7 separate regions of the Homo sapiens genome follow, and regions 2, 3, 4, 5, 6 and 7 are each linked to region 1. Evidence: promoter capture Hi-C in 16 types of primary human blood cells and fetal thymus (Javierre and others, 2016). All regions are on one chromosome and are shown on one strand. The core of a region is centred on a gene start or on the middle of the fragment in contact, and the rest is flanking DNA. Distances in the headings are between cores, read along the strand shown.

Evidence for each region. Contacts are between HindIII fragments. The CHiCAGO score rates a contact against its expected background, and 5 or more counts as called.
Region 2: a fragment that was not itself captured here is called in contact with the fragment with the promoter of ZNF234 in region 1 in 1 of 17 cell types (total CD4 T cells); the score reaches 8.0 in total CD4 T cells.
Region 3: a contact is called between a fragment that was not itself captured here and the fragment with the promoter of ZNF234 in region 1, in 1 of 17 cell types (activated CD4 T cells). The highest score is 7.5, in activated CD4 T cells.
Region 4: a contact is called between a fragment that was not itself captured here and the fragment with the promoter of ZNF234 in region 1, in 1 of 17 cell types (total CD8 T cells). The highest score is 6.4, in total CD8 T cells.
Region 5: a fragment that was not itself captured here is called in contact with the fragment with the promoter of ZNF234 in region 1 in 4 of 17 cell types (non-activated CD4 T cells, total CD8 T cells, naive CD8 T cells and 1 more); the score reaches 10.2 in non-activated CD4 T cells.
Region 6: a contact is called between a fragment that was not itself captured here and the fragment with the promoter of ZNF234 in region 1, in 2 of 17 cell types (non-activated CD4 T cells and naive CD8 T cells). The highest score is 11.1, in non-activated CD4 T cells.
Region 7: a contact is called between a fragment that was not itself captured here and the fragment with the promoter of ZNF234 in region 1, in 1 of 17 cell types (non-activated CD4 T cells). The highest score is 10.3, in non-activated CD4 T cells.

Annotation. Positions count from the first base shown.
Region 1 is chr19:44,140,188-44,143,590 of GRCh38, reverse strand. ZNF234 (zinc finger protein 234) reads right to left here and starts at 2,037. Exons shown (of 6, transcript NM_006630.3): 1 at 1,858-2,037; 2 at 1,224-1,277. RefSeq lists enhancers at 1,550-1,599, 1,265-1,855, 1,610-2,009. The HindIII fragment of the contact is 9,485 bases long and covers 1-3,403 here.
Region 2 is chr19:58,044,622-58,047,823 of GRCh38, reverse strand. The region is part of intron 4 of ZSCAN1 (zinc finger and SCAN domain containing 1); the gene reads right to left. It also overlaps the pseudogene LETM1P2. Among named protein-coding and RNA genes, the nearest start is that of ZSCAN1, 12 kb to the right of the region's middle. The HindIII fragment of the contact is 3,714 bases long and covers 1-3,202 here.
Region 3 is chr19:58,060,911-58,064,235 of GRCh38, reverse strand. It overlaps ZNF135 (zinc finger protein 135), which reads right to left. Exons shown (of 5, transcript NM_001289401.2): 3 at 2,530-2,656; 4 at 695-790. Among named protein-coding and RNA genes, the nearest start is that of ZNF135, 3.3 kb to the right of the region's middle. The HindIII fragment of the contact is 676 bases long and covers 1,325-2,000 here.
Region 4 is chr19:58,429,138-58,432,512 of GRCh38, reverse strand. It overlaps a transcript of ZNF324B not described here. Among named protein-coding and RNA genes, the nearest start is that of ZNF132, 9.3 kb to the left of the region's middle. The HindIII fragment of the contact is 1,598 bases long and covers 824-2,421 here.
Region 5 is chr19:57,250,923-57,254,222 of GRCh38, reverse strand. It overlaps ZNF805 (zinc finger protein 805), which reads right to left. Exons shown (of 4, transcript NM_001023563.4): 4 at 1-1,150. Among named protein-coding and RNA genes, the nearest start is that of ZNF805, 12 kb to the right of the region's middle. The HindIII fragment of the contact is 778 bases long and covers 959-1,736 here.
Region 6 is chr19:56,604,033-56,607,203 of GRCh38, reverse strand. The region is part of intron 2 of ZNF71 (zinc finger protein 71); the gene reads right to left. All of the region lies in intron 2 of ZNF71-SMIM17 (ZNF71-SMIM17 readthrough (NMD candidate)), which reads right to left. Among named protein-coding and RNA genes, the nearest start is that of ZNF71-SMIM17, 10 kb to the right of the region's middle. The HindIII fragment of the contact is 7,069 bases long and covers 1-3,171 here.
Region 7 is chr19:57,383,836-57,387,279 of GRCh38, reverse strand. No RefSeq gene overlaps it. Among named protein-coding and RNA genes, the nearest start is that of ZNF548, 4.3 kb to the left of the region's middle. The HindIII fragment of the contact is 972 bases long and covers 1,366-2,337 here.

The DNA.
Region 1 (3,403 bases), core at 788-3,287:
GTTGCCCAGGCTGGGGTGCAATGGCGCAATCTCGGCTCACTGCAAGCTCCGCCTCCCGGGTTAACACCATTCTCTTGCCTCAGCCTCCCAAGTAGCTGGGACTACAGGTGCCCGCCAACACGCCCGGCTAATTTTTTGTATTTTTAGTAGAGACGGGGTTTCACCATGTTAGCCAGGATGGTCTTGATCTCCTGACCTCGTGATCCGCCCGCCTCGGCCTCCCAAAGTGCTGGGATTACAGGCGTGAGCCACCGCGCCCGGCCAGAGACGAGTTTTTGTCATGCTGGCCAGGCGGGTCTCAAACTCCTGGCCTCAAGTGATCCACAGGCCTTGGCCTCCCAAAGTGCTGGGATTACTCGGGCTGTGACCCTGAGTGCCTCAGTTCCATAACTCAGGACTCAGGCATGACCCACCATGCCCTGCCCTCTTATACTATTTTTGCAACTTTTCTATAGACTTAAAATTATATAATTACTGTGTTAAAGTTTTTTTAAAAAATCAGGAAATAGTCATAGGAGAAATAATAATGAGAAGAATAAGAATGAGCATGATAGAATATGGCAGGTCACTAGTTTATTATCTCTTTATCTGGAAATTTCCATGGATAAGCAGATAAATAGAAAAACATTGAGAAATGTATAATAAAAATTTTGTAAAACATTTATAAGTAATATAAACATGGAACCACTAAAACAAAATGCATTAGAAATTTAACCATTACTATCTTTACATCCTGATTTCATAGGTAATTACAATTTTTGTATCTTCGTATTTCTGTAATTTCTGAATGCTTCACAGTGATACGGTTCTATTAGAATGTGAAATATTTGTAATAAATGAAACAAAATAGTTGACAGTTTTTAAAAACTGAGAAAACTCCAAGGCAATTAGCCTTGCTCTTAAGGTCCTTTAATCAAGTTCTAACTTACTTTCCCCACCTGAGTACAGCTAGTTCCTCTGCCTCAATGAGAATATATCCAAGAGATGATCAACTCGGGCTCTGACCCTGAATGCCTAGGTTCCAACCCAAGTTTCACCTCTTACTACTTGGATGACCAGTACCTCTCCACAGAGTCACGTTGCGGCTTAAACGTATCTAATTGTATAAATCCCCTAGAATTGAAGTTAGCAATTAAGGCTTAATTATTATAAATGCCCATGCCCTATTACACATGCTACAAAGATACAGTCTCTGTAAAAGAAAAATGACAAGTCACACTCACGTGGAGCTTTGCTTTCAGTAGCCAAGAAGTCAGTCCGCGCAGTCCTTTTTCAGGCTGGGGAAGGAGAAAGCTGTGAAACATCCTGACTGGGTCGCTGTCCCTGAGAAAAGTTAAATGCTCCCCTCCCTTCGTGGAAGTGGACGCAACCCTCGCCTGCCTAAAAAGAGGTCAGAAGGCGTCCGGGATCGTCCAGCGTCCTGCAGGGATCAGAGATAAGGGCTGAGGCCCCTGCTGCTGGAGCTCTGACCCCACCGGGGGACCTAACAGGTTTCGTGGGAAAGTAACAAGAAACCACCACTCACCAAGTGACAGGGACTGTTTGTGTTGTGTAACCTATTCCAGTTACCAAAACGATTCTACAAAGATGGTCCTAACGTCCCCATTTTAAAGAACAGCAAGGAGAGGCCCAGGGAGATTAACACGCCAACCTTGCACTGTAAAAAAGTGACTGCGCGCCTGGAGTGCAGGGAGGCGGAGTGGGCGAGCTCAGAGCCCCGGAAACCCTCAAACCAGGCGAGACGCGACCCAACCAAGTCCCAATGCCCCCCGCCTCCCGCCGCGGGACACGAGGGGAGCCCCAGCCCAAGAAGGCTCCGCTGACACAACAAAAGCCGCCGCCCTCGCCCCACCAAACCTCTGCTCTCCCACGAGGCTTCTTTTCCCATAACCGGACCACCAGGTCCCAGCGAGCCCCAATCTTAAGTCCCTGACATTAGGAGGGGCCCGCGAGTCGCGGAACTGGAAGAAACTACCGTGGAATGTGCCGTGACAATCGCCCCCTCTTCCCTGGAGCGGAAGTGCCCGCGACTCCACTGATTGGCGGGACTACATTTCCCAGAATTCCCCGGATCCCCCTGCGTGGGTCAAATGGACCACGACTCCACTGAGCGTTTGGATTACACTCAGAATGCTGAGGGAAAAACGTTCAGAATCTCACCCTTCAGGGAAAAGCGATGGGACTCCGCGGTGCTCCTTGCCTACGATTCCCGCACTGCCCATGGGGAACGAATCCTATATCGCTGAGCGCTTGGTAGGGAATGTGGACTGTGACCCTGAGAGTCGTCCTTCCCTCTGCCTGAGTCCTTGAGCGAAAATATTGAATAGACAGCAATTCCTGAAGTCTAAACGCCTCCCAGGACTACGGAGGATTATTGGAAAGAGAACAAGCGAGGAGATACAATCTTCAAGGACTAAATGGGGAATGACTTTTTAGGGGTCAGTAGATGATTGATGATTGATTACTATAAACTGATAATATGAGGCCAAAACTAAAAGTTGGAAGAGTGAGCAAGTACAATGGTTTGGGAGAGGCAATGAAGAACAAAGAAGGTGCCAGCCCCTACTCCAGACGCTGTGGTACCACTGGTTTGGCAGGAAAAACAATCATCATTTGAGAGGGCCAGTGGGGAAGCCCTGTCCTCATGGAAAAGCTATCTTCTTTCGTTTACACTTTTCATGGTATTATGTCTACTGAAGAGGTAAAAACACCAAATTTCAGAGAAGCTCTTAAATTGCCCAATACTTCAAAGCAAGTATAACTGGTGAAGCGCTTGGCATTGATGTCAGACACCCAATGCCTATGATTTATTTAATGCAGTAGCATTAAGGAGGATCCTATACGTGAAGGAACATATTTTATTTTCTTCCTTTATATTTTTTGGTTAAAATATCGTCATTATAGTTAGCAATTTGGAATCTGGCTTACATTGGTTGATACAAATAAATAATAGAATAAAGCAAAATCAGAAAAAAACCCATCTAAAATCTTTCTTCAAGATAACCAGGGGCTGGGTGCGGTGGCTCACGCCTGTAATCCCAGCACTTTGGGAAGGCCAAGGCGGGCGGACCATGAGGTCAAGAGTTCGAGACCAGCCAGGAGAACATGGTGAAAACCCATATCTACTAAGAATACAAAAATTAGCCGGGCATGGTGGTGCGTGCCTGTAATTCCAGCTACTCGGGAGACTGAGGTAGGAGAATCGCTTGAACCTGAGAGGCAGAGGTTGCAGTGAGCCGAGATCATGCCACTGCACTCCAGCCTGGGCGACAGAGCAAGACTCTGTCACGGAAAAAAAAAAAAAAAAAAAGATAACCAGATTTTTTTCTCCCCATAAACATACATTGGCCTATTGATATGGTTTAGATCTGTGTCCCCACCCAAATCTCATGTTGAAATGTAA
Region 2 (3,202 bases), core at 343-2,842, about 14 Mb before region 1:
CCCTAAGCACTGCGGGTGTTGCCCTTGAAGCCCCAGGGGATGCCCTGTGCCTCGTCTTCGTGCCTCGGTGACCAGCCTGCTTGTTAAAGGACCCCAGGGGCCTGAGCCTGCAACACCACAAGGGGTGAGAAGGGTATGCTGCTGTGGGTGCACTGGACTCAAACCTCACATTAGAAGCTACAAAGAACCCCAAATGTGCTTCAGAGCCCCACCAACCCGAGCCAGGCTCATCCCTGACACAGTAAATCCACTGCAGCCCCCGTGGCGCGCAGCCCAAGCACCACCCAAGGGAGTCCCATGGCTAGGGCTACGTCAGAGTTGCGTGGCTTGGGTCAGAGATGGCTCTTGGGGCAGGCCGACCAGCGTGGGAAAACTCTGTGCCAATCGACTGCTTAAAGAATTGGGGGAAAATAGAAAGTTAAGAAAGAGCTCCGATACACAAGGAAAACTGCAGGTGAGAACCGGCCCTGCCAGCAGGGAGACGTCACTCTCCAGAGGCCACAGAGATGGCAGATACCTCTGTCTCCACAGTGACCCAGATCCAACTAAAAGCATGCAGGAAGACAGGTCTATTGATGCTGAAATCTAGAAAGCAAGGTCCACAGGTGAATGGAGGCATCTTCAGCCCTGAGGGGGCCAGGCTGTGTCTCCTGACGCCTCTGAGGGTGGGCGTAGCAGCCAGCTCCGTGTGGGCAGAGTCCATGTGGTCCTCATTCTCCTCCCTGGGCACAGGGCAGCACAGTCAGACACTGAGACGTGAGGCCACACACAGGGGGGCACCTTCCTGCCTTGGCCCAGCCGCCTCTGGAGCCAGGAGGCCGTGGCAGCCACACCACAGTGTGGATCCAGACAGGATTCTGTGGAGGGATTCTGGGACTCCAGACAGATTGAAGCTCCGTGGAATGATGAAAATTACAGTTTACTTGATTATGGAAGTCTCTGATTTATTCCAGCCAAAGTATTAGATGAGCCACTAAGAATCACCGCAAATCGCTCTCACAGCCCTCACCAGGGTGGCAGTGCAGCAGGAGGACAGGTGCCCACGCCAGTGGCTCTAGCTCTTCACCTCTGCAACCTCCTTCTCCACCTTCTCCTTCTCCACCCTTTCTCCTCTTTTTCCAGTGTTGCTACAATCTCGGCCACCTGACTGGTGGAGACGTGAACATCTTCTTTGTCCACCAGCTCAATCACCTTGATGAGGTGGTCGACGTTGACCTTGCCATCCTTATTTTCATTCAGTGCTGCGGCCAGGCTGGTGAGCTTGCTTTTGGGAATGTGCTTGACTTGCTTCATGGCGTTGATGAGCTCGGCAACACTGATGACGTTCTCCCCCATGGGCACGCCCTTGGCCGGGGCCAGCTTGCTGGCCCACTGGTCCATCTCCAGCTGCGAGATCAAGCCGTTGATCTGCCCGATTATCTGCTGCACCCTTTTTGTCAATCTCTTGCTGGCTTTAGATCCTTCCATGTATTTTTCTTCACCAGTCTTTGAAAGTTCCTTCTTGAGCTCCTGCAAGTCCTCGCTGTAGTCCTGCATGTCCTCCTTCAGCAGCTCCAGCTCCTCCTTCTTCCTGGTGAGTGACTTCTTCTGTTCCTGCAGCTTAGAGCAGGCATTGCTGAGGATGCTGATCTCCTCCTTAGTCATCTCTTCCTCCTTCAAGCCCTCTAGCACGGGGGCAGTGTCCTTCATGGTCTCTGACTGCAGGACAGTGTCAGGCACTTCTGGCTGGGGCTGGGCCCCTGGCCTTTGGGGAGCGCCTTCCACACATTCGGGTTCAACATCCTTCGCCACCTCCGAATGCTTCTGCAGCTCCTTCTCGCGGTGCTCCTACTGCATGGTCGCCTTCTCCTGCAGTGTGGCCTCTAGCTTGGCCTTGTCCACCTGCTTGCCCTCCACCTCGGCCACTTTCACCTGTGCTTCCTTTGCCACAATCTCTGGGAGAGTCTGCAGTGTGGACTTGAGCTGGTCGGCTGGCAAGAGGGTGTCCGGGAGCTACATGGTCCGGGACAGGATGAGCAGCGATGTGGGGATCTCCTGATGCAGGTGCAGGTCCAGCCACTGCTTCAGCTGGCCCCTCAGGTGGTTTTCCCTGACGCCCAGGGCCCGCATGCCTCGTGCCCGACATGCCGCCTGCAGCTCCTTGACGTTCAGGCTGTCCACCCCTTCCTCAGCAAACAGCTTGTCCTCTGCCTTTATGGAGCGCAGCCGCATCGTGAGCTGGAAGCGCAGGAAGCTGTAGCTCCAGCAGCTTGCACAGGGCCACCAGCTGCGGCCGTGTCAGGTTGTCAAGGGTCAGCTCATCCTCAAATAATTTGGAAAAACCCATGATTTCCTCATTGCTGGGCCTCTCCCCCGTCTCCCGGATCTTCTGGAAAAACACAGAGAAGTCTTTGGTGGCACTGCCCTTGGCTGCCTCGTTCTTCAAGGCCATCTCCTGGATGGTGTCCTGGAGGAACTCGGCTAGCTCCAGCTTGACCTGAAGCTCCTTCAGCCTCTTCTCCTTGATGGACTGAGTCTCGGATGTGGATGGCAACATGTTGGGGAAGAGTTTCACAGCAACAGGCAGCAGAAACTCCACGAACGGCACCACCACGAACAGGAGGAACGGCACCAGGCGGAAGAGGTCGGCACAGAACCGGAGCAACTGCCTGCGCGCCTGGCGGGTCAGGGTGTGGCAGTTGAGGATGCGCCAGAGCATGCGTGCTGCGATCTTGGTGTGGATCCGTAGCAGGCGGAAGCCATGGTAGTAGTGCCTCAGCTCGCCCAGCACCCTCTCTGCCCCCGGGACTTCACCACCATCTCTGCGGGGGCGCTGTACACAGGGCCGCCTTCCTCCAGCTTCTTGTTCTTGTCCTTCAAGGACTTGAGGGACTTCTCTACTACCGAGTCATCACCAACAGGGCGCGAAGAGTGCCAGCCGCGGGCAGGAAGGCACCGAGGCCCCAGGACCACAAAACCCACAGAGGTGGAGGTCCATGGCGCTCTCGACACGGTGCGAAGGCACTCGGGCCTCAGAGTCCAACAGCTGAGGTGATCGCCTCTGAAGCACGGGTAGGCAGGGTGGGTGGGAGTGCAGCAGCCAAATGAAACTTTCGGGCAGCTCCTCAACCCCAGGGTGCTGGCAAGCTGAGATGAGCAGGATCCCCCGGACTACCCCGCGGGGCGGTGACCCGAGGCGGCGGCGGGAGGCTGGCGGGCGCCC
Region 3 (3,325 bases), core at 413-2,912, about 14 Mb before region 1:
CCTTTCCCACACTGGCCATCCCTCCTGGACTCTGGTGACAGGCCACTCTTCCCACCTGATGCCAATGGGAAATTGCCTGTCAGTGGGCTGGGATACCTCTGCTACCTACCAATCACCCTACAGGCACATGGCGTAGGGCCCAGCCTGGATCCACTGACCCACAGACACATGAATTATAAACAATTATTTGGTTTAAGCCACTGAGGTCAGAGTGTTTTCCTACACAAAAGCTGACTGATGCATGACTTCAGGCCTTTGCACCTGCTGTTTCCTCTGCCTGAAATACTACTGTTCACTCAGACTGCCTCATGGCTCAGGCTTCAAGTCACATGTCACCTCCTTGGAGAGGCTATCCCTCATCTCTCTGCTAAAGTCTACTCATCCCCCTCCTAGTCTACCTCATTGCTCATTTTCATTTTCTCGGCATTCATCACAATCTGTAATCATCCAACTTGTTTTATTATTATTATTTTACCGATTTATTGTTTGTTTCCCCCACTCCCTCACCAAGAATATAAATTCAGTGGAGATGAGGACGTGGTGTCGTCACTCACAGCAAAATGGGTGCTTGGTAAATCTTCACTAAGACTGAGTAGTAAATTTGCTCTGAAGAATTAGAGAGCAGATGCAGAGGGAGAAACCAGGAAGCAAGCATGGACAGGCTTCTCTCTGCCCCGAAGGGCTCCCATCTCACCTGGGTACACGCCTTGGGGAAGTCTAGACTCCACCGCCCACAGCTCTGCCTCTTGCTCCAGCAGGGAGATGACATTCGGCTTCGGTAACCAATGTCCTGCTCAGGGAGAGACCCATAGAGTGAGCATTTGTATCCCAGGACCCTTCCTGAGCCTCAGCCCATTCCACCTTTGGTCTTCCAGGTCCCAGATGGCTGGGGACCCCTGAGTGACTTCAGCTGTCATACCCACAGCCCTGGATGTTCCTCAGGGACTCATTCCCCTACTCTCAGTCCCTGACCCTACCACTGGTTCTGGGGTGGACATGTGACCCAAGCCTGGACAATCAGAACTCTGGTTCCTCCCCTGCCCACTGGCATCAATGATCACTGTGAAGAAGACCTGGCAGCCAAACCAGGACAACCCTGGGACACAGATCCTGTCTTTTCTGCTGGTCTTGGTTGCAGGAAAGGCACCCCAGGCAGTTGTCTTGTCACCTCCAGAGGAGCCTCTCTGGAAATGAAGCCAGAAAGAGATTGCTATGGTCTGAATGTTGGTGTCCCCCTAAAATTCAGGCTATGCATAGTGGCTTATGCCTGTAATTCCAGCACTTTGGGAGGCTGAGGTGGGAGGATCACTTTAGCCTAGAAGCTTGAGGGCAGCCTGGGCAACACAGCAAGGACCCGTCTCTACAAAAATTTTAAAAATTAGCTAGGTGTGGTGGTATGCACCTGTAGTCCCAGCTACTTGGAAGACTGAAATGGAAGGTTTACTTGAGCCAGGAGGTTAAGTGTGCAGTAAGTATGACTGTGCCACAGCACTCCACCCTGGGCAAGAGAACAAGACCCTGTTTCTTAAAAATAAAAAAGGTTCAGGCCGGACGCAGTGGCTCACGCCTGTAATCCCAGCACTTTGGGAGGCTAAGGTGGGTGCATCACGAGGTCAGGAGATCGAGACCATCCTGGCTAACACGGTGAAACCCCGTCTCTACTAAATATACAAAAAAAAAAAAAAATTAGCCAGGCGTGGTGGTGGGCACCTGTAGTCCCAGCTACTCAGGAAGATGAGGCAGGAGAATGGTGTGAACCCGGGAGGCAGAGCTTGCAGTGAGCCGAGATCGCACCACTGCACTCCAGCCCGGGTGACACAGCGAGACTCTGTCTCAAAAATAAAAAATTTAAAAACAAATAAATAAATAAATAAATAAATAAGGTTCAAATGTTAGAATGTAATACCTAATCTGATAGTGTTGAGGTGGGGCCTTGGGGAAGTGATTAATTCATGAGGGCTCCACTCATGAATGGGATCAGTGCCCTTATAAAAGAAGCTTGAGATAACTCCCTTGCCCTTATGGCATGTCAGGACACAGGAAGAAAGTGCCATCAGTGAGGAGCAAGCCCTCACCAAACACTGAATTTGCTGACACCTTGATCTTAGGCTTCCCAGCCTCCAGAACCATGAGCAACAAATATCTATTGTTTAAAATTACCCAGTCTAAGGTATTTTAGCAGCCCTAACAGACTAAGACAGAAGTGCAGAGGGAGGTGTTGAAGAAGGAGGGGCTCCTAACAGCTCTACAGAACACCCTGGTCTACCCTGGGATTCTGTAGTCTTCAGACCCAGTATGTTTCCCTCACCTCATGTTTCTCTGCTTCTGTTGATTTCAGGTTGAGTCTGAGACTTGCTAATATTGGTCTTAATTGATATTTCCTACATTAAAACAGTCAGGTTCTTAAAGCCCAAGACATACAGCCCCAGGCATTTGCTTTTAAAGCTCAGTCCTATAAATATTTAACCTGGTAGAATCAGAATCCGTGTCAGGGACAGATCAACAGATAGGACATGGGTGTGGCCTTACCCACAGAGACCAGAAGCCTGAAGGTGTCCAGCATTACATCACGGTACAGGGTCCTCTGGGCAGGCTTCAGCTGCCCCCACTCCTCCTGGCTGAAGCCCACTACCACGTCCTCAAACGTCACTTGCTCCTGAAACATCACACGAGTGTCCTCAGCCAAGCCAACCCTGGCACTGGCTGCTGGTGGGGTAGCTGGTAAATGCCAGCCAGGCTGGGTCGGATGGAGTTCCCTTTGGTCTGGGGTTTTGGGTCAGGTTTTTCTGTGGGGCCTGGATGGGTGCCCTGCTGATGAGGTGGAGGATCTTAGAATCTAAGGCATCATGCCCGTTTCCAATAATTTGTCTCTTGAAATAAGAAATGGAGGGAGCCAGCAATAAAGGAGTGGACCAGCCCAGCATGGTGTCGCATGCCCGTGGTCCCAGCTGCTTAACAGGCTGAGGTGGGAGGATCACTTGAGCACGTAAGTTTGAAGCACAGTGAGCCATGATTGCATCACTGCACTTCAGCCTAGGGGATAAACAAAGTTATAAAGCTAGTAGCAGAAGTCTAAAGACTGAATCTGGGTGGTTTTTTTTTTCCCCCGAGACGGAGTCTCGCTTTGTCGCCCAGGCTAGAGTGCAGTGGCATGATCTTGGCTCACTGCAAGCTCCGCCTCCTGGGTTCACGCCATTCTCCTGCCTCAGCCTCTCGAGTAGCTGGGACTACAGGCGCCCGCCACCCCCCCGGCTAATTTTTTTTTGTATTTTTAGTAGAGACGGGGTTTCACCGTGTTCGCCAGGATGGTCTCGATCTCCTGACC
Region 4 (3,375 bases), core at 373-2,872, about 14 Mb before region 1:
CATGGAGGACTCTATGTGCATAGAGAAACACTGGATGTGAGGTAATAACCAGGGATTTGGGTAGACTGGTGAACTAGGGCACATGCCATCATGGACAAAGGAATAGCCATAGTTCCCCATCAACTGGGACTGTGCAGGGTGAGGGTGTGCAGAACAACTCCAGAGCTACAGACCTTTGTATTTGCCATGTTAAAGTTTTTGCCACAGTTAAAGCAGATAAATGCAATGTCATGTACATTCACTTCACCTCTCTCAAACTGTATCTTGGCACCCATCACTCCCCAGGTAGGAACTGGGAGCTGAGAGAAGTGATAGCCTGACGTCCAGGAAAGTGGTTTTTGCAGTCTGGCCAGGGTTTCTGGTCACTAACACACACTTCATGCCTTCACAGTCTTGCTGGCCAACAGAGTGGGCACAGGCAGATGGGGGCATTTAACACAGTTGACAGAGCTGGTATTTTAGAAGGAGCTAGAGATCCAGAACCTTGTAGAATATGGTGTTTGGCACCTTTTTTTTTTGATATGGAGTCTTGCTCTGTCGCCCAAGCTGGAGTGCAGTGGCGCGATTTTGGCTCACGGCAAGCTCCACCTCCTAAATGGCTCACGCCATTCTCCTGCCTCAGCCTCCCGAGTAGCTGGAACTACAGTTGCCCGCCACCACACCCAGCTAATTTTTTTGTATTTTTAGTAGAGACGGGTTTTCACCATGTTAGCCAGGATGGTCTCGATCTCCTGACCTCCTGATCTGCCTGCCTTGGACTCCCAAAGTGCTGGGATTACATGCATGAGCCACCGCACCTGGCCGGCACCTATTTTAAAAAGCTTATTTACCATGTAATTTCAGCATCATCACATGTGAGCTGCTGCTGTTTCTTTGACCTCCCCCATACAAGGAAGTACTCATGAGAGCATTGGCTGGGATGTGAACAGGAGTCCCCATAAAGGAGAGGCCTGGCCAGGTGCAGTGGTGCACACCTATAGTCCTAGCTGCTTGAGAGGCTGAGGCAGGAGGATCTCTTGAGCCCAGGAGGTTGAGTCCATCCAGGGCAACATAGCAAGGCCCCATCTCTAGAAAAGAAGGGTGGCCTGGGCTCACATCACTGAACAGCAGTTTCAGTAGCCACTGCTGCTTCCACATCTGTCCTAGATCCCTCTCTGTTCTCCCTGCCTATGTGAATGTCACCTAACAGGCTCAGTAGTGGGATATGTGACAGGACCAGTACTCCATGACTGGTCGTTCCTCACCCTGACCATGGCACCCTTGCCCTGCCAAAGATTGTACTCCTGGCTGAACGTTAGGCAGTGTACTCCAGGTAGAAACCCCACACAAGGGAGTGGATCAAACCTTCACCAACAGTAGACCATTTATGGTGAAGACCACCTTTTCAGATGTGACATGGCTCACAGTAAGAGCACTTTTCAGTTCATGCACAGCAAAATTCATAAGTGAGAGGACTCAAGGGCCAGGCATTTGTGAAGGCTTTCCAGGGTAACTACCCCCTTCCAGCACTGGAGTACCAGAATAATGAGAAGCTCAAAAGAGAATGTGGAAAGGCCTTCCTTTCTCCATCACCAGAGTACTCATGGCACAGGGAAGCCATGAAGAAGAGCTGAGTGAGAAGATGCTGCCACACAGCTCTAACATCAGATAACACCGGGCAGGCCATGATAGGGAGAAGCCCTTCAAGAGCAGTGGCTATGGGAAGACATGAAGACTTTTGCCCTCTTCAACCACCTAAGAACCCACACTGAAGAGAGATCTTTAAATACTTGGTATGAAGAAAGACCCTCAAGAAGAAATCGATTCTTATCTATAACCAAAAAATTCACAGTAGAGAAAACCCCTGCATCTAAGGAATGTGGGATGGTCTTCAGTCACCTCTCCTATGTGAGAAAGCTATATAAAGTACCTATGGGAAAAAGGCATTACAAATGCAGTGAAAATGGGAAAGCCTTCAGCTATAGACACCCCCTTTTAAGAAAAATCACCAGAGAATTCACAAGAGAGTTATGGGCAACAAATGTGGGAAAGCCACAGCTCCCAGAATCTTAGGCGGCACTGTATTACTGCTATTGCAGAAGCCATCTGTATTAGTTACCTATTGCTGTGTAACAAATTACTCAAAACCTAGTGGCTTAAAACAATAGTCACTATTTCACAGTCTCTATAGGTCAGGAACTTTGGTGCAGCTAGCTGACTCCTCTTTAGGGTTTCTCACAAGGCTAACATCAAGATGTCAGCTGGGGGTGTATCATCTGAAGGCTTGACTAGGGAAGGCTCTGCTTCCAAGCAAACTCATGTAATTGGCAGCATTCAGTTTTTTGTGGGCTGCTGGACTGAGGACCCGTCTGTTGGTCTGAGACCTCCTCCAGTTCTCTGCCACATGGGCCTCTCCAAAATGGCAGCTTGTCAATCAAAGCTTGCAAGCTGATCATGCAGTGGAGAATACCAACAAGTCAGTCATTTGTAACCTAATAACAGAAGTGAGATCCCATCATCTTTGCTAAATTTAGTTAGAAGCAAGTCACTTGGTCCAGCCCACAGTCAAGGGGAGAGCATTACACAAGAGCATGAATACCAGAGGGCAGAGATCATTGGAAGCCATGTCCAAAGCTGCCTGCCATACTGTCTCATCTCTGCCACCTGGCAAGATCTCATGATATGTATCAGTCTCCCTCACTGTGCTAAGGGAAAGCAGACTATACTCCCTTTTCCATTCTCTAGAGAGAATTACATAGGCTTTGAGTACCTTCATTTTCTTTCCCACTGATGGCTTTAGATTTTGGTATGACAATTCTTGCTAAGATCTGAGCTGGTGTCTTCTGGAGCTTTCCAGAAAAGGTTTCTTGGCCGGGCACAGTGGCTCATGCCTATAATCCCAGCACTTTGGGAAGCTGAGGCAGGCAGATCATGAGGTCAGGAGATCGAGACCATCCTGGCTAACATGGTGAAAACCCACCTCTACTAAAAATACAAAAAATTAGCCAGGTGTGGTGGCGGGTGCCTGTAGTCCCAGCTACTTAGGAGGCTGAGGCAGGAGAATGGTGTGAACCTGGGAGGCAGGGTGTGCAGTGAGCCGAGATCGTGCCACTGCACTCCAGCCTGGGCGACAGTGTGAGACTCCATCTAAAATAGAAGAAAAGGTTTCTCTTCATGGACATTGTTTGCATCTACATGTGACACTTAGGAATGATCTGTTTAGTCTCAATCACTCACTCCTGGATCTGCCTGTCTCTCTCTGAGATAACAAAGGCCTTAATGTTTAGCCACCTGCATCAGAGTTGGTGAGGTGGTTTGAAACAATTCATCCTAATATAAAAAGAACAGCTTTTGTAAGGGGGCACTGAGTGTCTCAAACAGCCGCATGGGCAGGAA
Region 5 (3,300 bases), core at 98-2,597, about 13 Mb before region 1:
GCCCTATTGCTAAAGGCTTTCCCACACTCTTTGCACTCGAAAGGTTTTTCTCCAGTGTGGGCCCTTTTATGCAAGATGAAAGTAGAGCAGTGGGTGAAGGCCTTTCCGCATTCACTACACACATATGGCTTCTCCCCAGTGTGAATCCGCTGGTGCCTTTTGAGGTAGGATCGGTGGTTGAAAGCCTTCCCACACTCGAGGCACTCAAAGGGCTTCTCTCCAGTGTGGATGACATAGTGGTGAATCAGCGCTGCGCTCTCACAGAAGGCCTTCCCACATTCACTGCACTCATAGGGCTTCTCCCCGGTATGAGTCTGCTGGTGCCACATGAGGTATGATCTGTGTTTGAAGACCTTGCCACATTCGAAGCACTCGTAGGGATTCTCACCACTGTGGATGATGTAGTGTCGAATGAAACCTGGCCTATCTCGAAAGGCTTTGCCACACTCTTTGCACACAAAGGGTTTTTCTCCAGTGTGGCTCCTGTTATGCAAGACAAAAGTGGAGCGGTGGGTGAAGGCCTTTCCACATTCACTGCACTTATAAGGCTTCTCTCCACTGTGAATCCGCTGGTGCTGGGTAAGGTGTGACTTCCGATTAAAAGCCTTCCCACACTCCATGCACTTATAGGGCTTCTCCCCAGTGTGGACCATGTGGTGCTGCAGGAGGTATGTACTCTTGCTAAAGGTTTTTCCACACTCTGTGCATTCATAGGGCTTCACTCCAGAGTGAATCCTCTCATGCCGAGCAAGCAGGCGTTTCTTGTTAAACACTTTTTCACATTCATTGCATTTAAAGATATTTTCCTCTTCCTGAATAACTGGATTTTTACCTGATCCATGTGAGTCACAGTCATGGACATCATCTCCTAAGGAGACTCGATCCTGTATAATCCTTGAACACACACTATCAGCTGTCCCTAAACCATCATGTTTGGGGCTCATTTTTCCAGGAAGCTTCTCCTTTTGGGAATCTAACCCTGGTCTCAAGCGTTCTCCCTGCATTTCTGAAAACCCATCCTGATCCTTGGGTTGCCCCAACTGGGAGTCCCCTGAAGCTCCTTGTGTTAGTTGTCCCCAAAAAGAGATTCCTTCAGACAAGGCTAGCTCACAGGTGGTAGGTTCTGTGCTCTTGGGTTTTCCTTTGTCACCTGAAAGAAATCCAACACACAGAAGGGCTTGTTAGTAATGTAAAAAGAGAAGAAACAAACTCACCACTTCAGTAAAAAAAATGAAGTTATAAATGGTGCCTTTATGTCTGTTATATTTTGCCATCTTGAACCCCAGATCTATAATTTGTTTCTTTTATTTTCCTTGGATTCCTGACTCCTTGAAAGGGAGACCAGGCAGAGAGACCAGGTGAGGGGACAGGGCCTAGAGTGGAGATATCGCTTCAATTCCAGACTAAATATTTATATAAAGGTAACTCATTATAGGTACCTAAATAGTTTATCCTAAATAGATGACTCTGGCTGAGGTCTGGTGGCACCAGAAAGACCAACCAGTGAGTAGAAGGTTAGGTCTCTGAGCCACAAGATATCAGCTGAACTCTGGAAAAGGGACGAAGGCTGGAAACTTCACATGGCAATGTGGGCAATGTCTCGATTAACCGTGCTTGTGTAATGAAGCTCAACAAACTCTAAAAACCAGAGCTCCAGTGAGTTTCCTGGGTTTGCAATGCTCTGTGCACATATTTTACACTCAATGCTGGGTGGGTAACAAGTTACTGAGGAAGCTTTGTGTTTGGAACCCCTTCAGCCCCACATCCCGTGTCCTCTTCTAATTTGTATGCTTTGTCTGTAATAAACAAAACTGTGAGTATAATAGGTTTTAGAAAGTGTTGTGAGTCTTTTTAGCAAGTTATGAAACCTAAGGTTGGTTTCAGGAAATCCCTGAATTTGCAGTTGGAATTAAGAGGATTTGGGTAGACTTGACAAAGTCCTGGAGGACTGTGTCCTTATCTTGAGTTTGGCTAATCCTGGGTAGAAAAAGATCAAGGCAGTTTTCCAATAGAAGGTACCCAGTGAAGTAAGTCCCACTTGTCACGAGAGAATGTGAGAAAGACACTATAGCCTTAGGAGAAAGAATATGCAAATGAGCTACAGTGCATGAGAGGGTGGTGGTGATGAGAATCTAGGGAAAGATGAGGCACAGGGGGACTGATTCCCAAGATTCTGACCTAGGTGACAGCTGTGAAGAGCAGTGCCACTCTCAGGACAGAGCTCATAAGGCAGAGGTACCACTCTGGCACAGACATAATGCAAACTGGGAATAAAGAAGAACAGAGAGCTCAGAAATCCCCTTGCACATAGATGGGGCTTTGGTAGATGGCAAAGAGGCACAGCACCTCAGTGATGAGAGACTACTAAGGAATTAGAGCTAGAAAAATTGGCTACCAACACGGGGAATGGAAATATTGTATTCTATCACATTCTATACTCAAAATCAACTTCAGATTGATAAAGACTTGAATGCCAAATGGCAAGTTTTACAACTTACAATAAAATAAACAAGAATACCTTTTTGACATTAGGGTAAAGCAACATTTTTTCCACAAGGTACAAAATCATTAATCACGTAAAAAAAAAACATAAATCAGACTACGCTATGTAAGGAACTCATTGAACAAAAGATACTTTAAAAAGAGTGGAAGGACAAAATTAAAAACTAGAAGAATATACCGGCAGCAAATGTAACTGATAAAAGATAGGTATCTATAATGTACAAAAATAAAATCAAAAAGAGAAAGCCAAAGAAGTTAATTGAAAAAAAGGCATTTATCACCAAATAACATCTCACAGAAGAAAATATAGATTGGCTCAGAATCATGAAAGACACTAAACCACCCTACCAATGAGGAAAATGCAAATCAAGAGCACAACAGATAATATTTTGTGTCCATTTAATCGGCAAAAATTGAGGGGCCTTATAGTTTCAAGTATTAGATAGGATATGGATCAATGGAACCTTCCAAAAATTCCTGAGAGGAATTTTTTGATATAGGCCCTTTAGAAAACAATGAGAATGATCTTGCAAACTAGAACATTTGCATAATCTATAATCCAATTATTTCACTCCAGAAACATCAAAAATGTGTCCCTACACATGTGAAAGATGAACAACATACATAAATGTCCACAGCATCACTGATATAAAAACATGTAAACAATTAAGTGCTCAGACAGTGAATGAATATATGAATACACTGTGAACCATGAACACTGAATTGTTGAATTTTCTTCAAGGGTAAGGAAGTTGAGCATATTTTTATGTTGAGTACAGAAAGGATGAAGTTACAAAA
Region 6 (3,171 bases), core at 445-2,944, about 12 Mb before region 1:
TCCAAGAACCATCAATGAACATATTTAGAATATATCAGAATACGTATTAGATACCATTGATCTAGAATTCCTGTTTAGGGGGTAAAAATTCAACCATGCTTTTCTGGTAGCCCAGAAAATTGTAAATTAAAACACCAGTTAAATTTCTGATACAGTTATATTTTGCTGGATCAAATTACCCATTTTCACTGTCTCTTTCAATATAAGTCAGCTTTGGTAGACAATAGTAAGTGGGTAGACTTGTTGAAAATGGCCTCAAATCCTTCACTAGTGGAGTCTAGTTCCCCCATCCTTGAATGTGGGCTGGCCTTAGGGACCTGCTTGACCAATAGAATCTGGCAGAGGTAATGTTCTGGGACTCTCAGGCTAGATCACAGAAGACTTCCAGCTCCTGCCTCAGCCTCCTGGAACACTTGCTCTGGGAGAAGCCAGTCATCACAACAGGTGTCTCATTATGTCTCATTACTCACATGCCATGCTGTGAGGAAGCCCAAGCAGCCACAAGGAAAATCCATGTGGAAAAAAAAAAGATGCCCACCAAGGCCTCAGCGGTGCCATCCATACCACAGCAAGAGACAGACATGTGAGCAAAGAAGCCAGCAGACTACTCTAGCCCAGCTGCCATCCAACAGCCACCACACAAGAGATGCCAGGCACGAACTGCCCAGCTGAGCCCATCAACCCCAAAATAGTAATAAATTGTAGTTTTTGAGCCATTAAGTTCTGAGATGGTTACTACCCAGCAAAATATAACTGGATCGGAAATTTAACTGATTAATTTATAATTTTCCGGGCTACCAGAAAAGTATGGTTGAATTTTTACCCCCTAAACAGGAATTCTAGATCAATGGTATCTAATACATATTCTAACATATTCTAAATATGTTCATTGATGGTTCCTGGAAACACACAGAGTGATACTTCACCCTTTCATGTATTCATTTGACGAATATTTATTAAGTGCCTGCCATGCACCAGGCACTGGGCATACAACTGTGAATAAGACAGACATGGTATTGGCACCAGGTTTCTTCCATACTAATTCATTAGTAAATAATGATAAAAATAACTAATGTTCATTAAGCACATACTACATGCCAGGTATTGTTCTAAGCCCACTGCACACACCATCTCACTTAATCTTCAAAAGAACCCTACTATGTAGGCACTTTTATGAGCTCATTTCTTTTACAAAGGGGGAGACTGAGGCACAAGAGGTCACACAGATGGGAGTGGCAGCATTTTAAACCTAGTCAGTTCAACTCTCAGCCCCAACATTAGATGGCCTCATCCATGTATAATACCAATCTAGCTGGCATCACAGCCAAGGAGCAGTTTAGTTTGGATCAGACCCTGAGATGGATGGCACGTCTTTTGCCTATAAAGAAGACAGTTGGATAAATATCACAGAGTGTCCCAGCTGGCGCTTCTCTTCCAGACAGATCACAAGCGATCCTGAAGCCACTTCCAGAGATGGTGCTTGACAGTCGACCTCCTCCCTAGTGTGATGAAGGCCTGCACGTCTCACATTATTGCTGGCTGATCACATCATCCATGCATGACTCTGCCACATGAAGATCTTGAGCCATGGCCACAGATTAAATTTCTGATCCAGTTATATTTTGCTGGGTAGCAGCCATCTCAGAACTTAATGGCTCAAAAACAACAATTTATTACTATTTTGGGGTTGATGGGCTCAGCTGGGCAGTTCGTGCCTGGCATCTCTTGTGTGGTGGCAGTTGGATGGCAGCTGGGCTAGAGTAGTCTGCTAGCTTCTTTGTTTACAAGTCTGTCTCTTGAGCTGGTATGGATGGCACAGCTGAGGCCTTGGTGGGCATCTCTTTTTCTCCACATCACTTTTCCTTGTGGCTGCTTGGGCTTCCTCACAGCATGGCATGTGAGTAATGAGAGACCTATTGTGTCCTACAGAGGGACCTGCTGTTCTGAACTGATTCAGTGGTACAACCCCCAAGGCACAAGGAAAGAACGGGAGTTCTGAGCACACAGAGCATATGAGATGTACCTGGGCCTGAAGCCAGCTGTACACATTTCTATTTTGCTCCTATGGGGGTTTCAAAATTGTTTTTAATTGTTACTCACATGAAAAACACATCCACAATTTACCAAGAAAATGAATTTCTAGTTTCTCTTTAAACAGCAGAATATCTGGCCACTCTAGGCTGGAGCTGAGTGGTGGCTGACCCTTTGATGGGGCAAGAAAGCTCCAATTTGCTACAGGCCCCACCTGCCCACTTATTTATGTAAGACACTCAGAATGGTAATGCATAGCATACAGCAGGCACTCAATAAGTGCCAGCTATTGTTACTGACACTCAGAGCTCACTGGCTCTCTCCAGCATACTGAGTGTCCCCACCACCAACTGAATCCCAAGGGGAGGCCTCACCCCCGCTGGCTAGTCCCTCTATGGTCCTAGGGTGCCCTTCTGGGGCTTGGGCTCAAGATAGCCTCCTCTGCCTGAGGGGTCACCTTTGATAGAAAGCAGTTGGGCTGGTGGTTCAGAGTGTAGGCTCAGGAACCACACTCTGCAACGGAATCCTGGCTCTGCCCCTCATGAGCTGTGTTTCCTTGGACAACTGTCTTTCTCTTTCTAAGCCTCATATGAGAGGCAGGCTTCCTGATAACAATGTCCCCCTCCACAGGGTCGTAAGGTTAAATGTGTACAAATATGGTCCAAACACAGTGCCTCGTGTGATGGAGGAAGCTCTCAGTAAATGTCGACTCTTGCTATTATTTAATGTTGATATTTAATATATATCTTATGTACAACTGTAGATCCTTATATGATATTATTTGACCTTTTGGCCCAATGTATCTTTCAGCCAGCCCAGCTAATAATTCCTCCTTTTCTAAAAATTTAAACTACTTGATTGAGGTGTGACTGATATATAAAAAGCTGTGCATATTTAATAATATACATAACTTGATGAGTTTGCAGATGCATATACACCCGTGGAACCATCACCACCATCAAGGCCATAAACGGATCCATTACCTCCAAAAGTTCCCTCTCACACCTATATTTATTTATTTTACAAAATTGTAATACAACAATTCCTTCTGGAAGTCTTCCCTAAGTACACCCACCTAATTCACTCAACTATTCACTGAGCAGTCTCCAGGCACCAAGCCCAGACTGGCACCAGGGTTGT
Region 7 (3,444 bases), core at 602-3,101, about 13 Mb before region 1:
CAGTTAGCGTTGCTATAAATGAATACCTGAAGCTGGTAATTTATAAAGAAAAAAATGTTTATTTGGCTCAAAATGTTGATGTGTGGAAAGTTTAAAATTGGGCATCTGCATCTGGTGAGGGTCTTCGGCGGGTTCTATTCATGGTGGAAAACGAAAGAGAGCTATAATGCGAAGGAATCATATTGCAAGAGAGGAGGACAGTGGGTGGGGAGTGTATCAGGCTCTTTTCAACAACCAGCTTTCTTGGGAACTAATAGAGTGAGAATTTACACATCTTCAAGTGGGGGTATTCAGGTAGGATCTACCCTCATGACCAGAACACCTCCTATTAGGCCCCACCTCAAACATTGGAAATTAAATTTCAACATGAGCTTTGGAAGAGACAAACATCCAAACCATAGCATATGATTTCTTACAAATTCTGGCTGTTGGGAAACCAAAAATGGGGAATGAGAATTAAGTTGCTGGCTTATGTTCAAGTAAGGAAAAAATTTATCTCTGCCCCAAATCCATAATCATAAACAAGAAACCACCATTAATTAGAGATAACTTGGGATGTGTACCTATGCTTTAAAAGTCAGCTAGTCAGCAAAAGCTTCACCCCAGTAATTAACCAGAAACTTAGCAAATCATTGTTAGGCCAAGATTCTAAAATTTTTCCAATGGGGGTAAGGCCCAGTACTAAAGATGGTCAATCAGTGGCAGCCCCAGGCTGCTGGCAACAACTAATCCACAAGTGCCTCCTGTCAGTAATCCTGTTTATGAAAGCCAGTTGGTAAATGGTTGCATTTACACTAACATACCTGAAAGTCCATCAGTCTTTCAACTCTGCTGCTTCTGAAAGTCCTCAGTCCCTGAAGGCCAGCCTTCCTAAAAGCTCATATAATAGCAGTTTTGGCTTTGTTTGAGGAGACTGCCTGACCACTACAGCTCTGCCCTGCAGACAAATAGGAATATCACTTTTTTTCCCTTGAGATATCAAAATCTATTTATTCTTTTTTTTTTTTTTGAGACGGAGTCTCACTCTGTCGCTGGGCTGGAGTGCAGTGGTGTGATCTCGGCTCACTGCAACCTCCGCCTCTCCGGTTCAAGTGATTCTCCTGCCTCAGACTCTCAAGTAGCTGGAACTACATATGCACGCCACCACGCCCAGTTAATTTTTTTGTATTTTTAGTAGAGACGGGATTTCACCATGTTGGCCAGGATGGTCTCGATCTCTTGACCTCATGATCCGCCTGCCTCGGCCTCCCAAAGTGCTGGGATTACAGGCATGAGCCACCACGCCTGGCCCCATTTATTCTTAATTGAATATAAATTATTACTTATATTTTAATTATATGAATATAATTTAAAAGTTTGCAAGCTTTCAATGGTTCCATCTGTTTGTAATTAGTTATGAGTTTGGATATGAAATGGTAGACTAACTGACCCAGACATACATTGTAAAATCCAACGTTTTCTCCAGTGTTTTCTTTTTTCTTTCTTTTCTTTTTTTTTTTTAAGATACAGTTTCACTCTGTCACCCAGCTGGAGTGCAGTGGCGCAATCTCGGCTCACTGCAACCTCTGGCTCCCAGGTTCAAGTGATTCTCATGCCTCAGCCTCCCAAGTAGCTGGGATTACAGGCGCGTGGCACCATGCCTGGCTAATTTTTTGTATTTCTATTAGAGATGGGGTTTCGCCATGTTGGCCATACTGGTCTCGAACTCCTGACCTCAAGTGATCTGTCCGCCTAGGCCTCCCAAAGTGCTGCGATTACAGGCATGAGCCACTGTACCCACAATGTTTTTCAACTCTTGTAGAAGTTGCTATTGTCTATATTTTGAGTATATTGAATGCAAAAAATGTCAAAATGCAAGTTTATAATTTATGATGAACTGAGGAGTATTTAAAATTCCCTTTGAAGGTCTTCGACTCTATGTAATTGCCCATTGACTAATGAAAATGGTGGACAGTCAAATATATATTAACTTTGGAAGGTGCATGATTTTCTCAACTAGTTCCAAAGAAAGAGACAAAATAACTTTTTTGTTAAAATCAGATGGAGATGGTAGAATAATTATAATAGAGTTTGTAATGTTTTCTACACTGTTTATCATCATGAGTCTTTAGGCTCAGAATGCTACTGTTGAGTGTGTTTCTCATTAATGAATGTCCAATAGATAAAGGAATGAAATAAGTTGAATATGACAAATGACGAAGGTTTGTCACAACATAAATGGCATCAAGACTGTAACTGCAGGAATTCTGTAAGCAAATTATATAAAACAAGGAATTGTTAAGTAGAAGCAAATTATCAGGGAAAGAGTTATGTCATTAGAACTGTGATCCCCAAGCTTTTTAGTACCAGGGACCGGTTTTGTGGAAGACAATTTTTCCATGGATAAGGGAGAGGGGTTTGGGGGCAGATGGTTTCAGAGGCATTAGATTCTCATAAGGAGCATACAACCTAGATCCCTCTCTTGTGCAGTTCACAGTAGGGTTTGCACCCCTATGAGAATCTAATGCTGCTGCCGATCTGACAGGAGGCGGAGATCAGGCAGCAATGCTCACTCATCTGCCACTCACCCTCTGCTATATGGCCCCATTCCTAACAGGCCATAGTACTCATCTGTGGCCCCAGGGGTTGGGGACCCCTGATTTAGAATGTATTTCAGATAAACAACAAATAATTTTATGATGAGTATGTCACATACAATATTTATCTTTTATCTCACTGCACATATACATAGGGAATTAGAAATAATTCAAATTTAACCAGGTCAAGTATCAGTTACAAAATTTGACAATTCTTTTCATCGTAATTTTTTTCTGAACCTATGCATTATATTGAGCATCCTCATTTTTGAACCTAGTAACTCATTCACAGAATTTCTGCTACCCTTCTTCTTTTTTCTTTTTTTCTTTTTTTTTTTTTGAGACAGAATCTTGCTCTGTCACCCAGGCTGGAGTGCATTGGCGCGATCTCAGCTCACTGCAACCTCTGCCTCCCGGCTTCAAGCGATTCTTCTGCCTCAGCCTCCTGAATAGCTGAGATTATAGGCGCCCGCCACCATGCCCGGCTAATTTTTTTTTTTGCCCTGTCGCCCAGGCTGGAGTGCAATGGCATGATCTCAGCCCACTGCAACCCCCTCTTCCCGGGTTAAAGCAATTCTCCTGCCTCAGCCTCCCGAGTAGCTGTGATTACAGGCACGCACCACCACGCACAGCTAATTTTTTGTATCTTTAGTAGAGATAGGGTTTCACCATGTTGGCCAGGCTGGTCTCGAACTCCTGACCTTATGATCTGCCTGCCTCGGCCTCCCAAAGTGCTGGGATTACAGGCTTGAGCCACTGTGTCTGGCCACTTCTTCTTAATTGTAAATTCTGCTGGTTGGGGGCCCTTTGTTCCAAGGAAGGAGAGGTTCCACCAGAAGTAAATATTATTACATTTAATTGAAGGGTG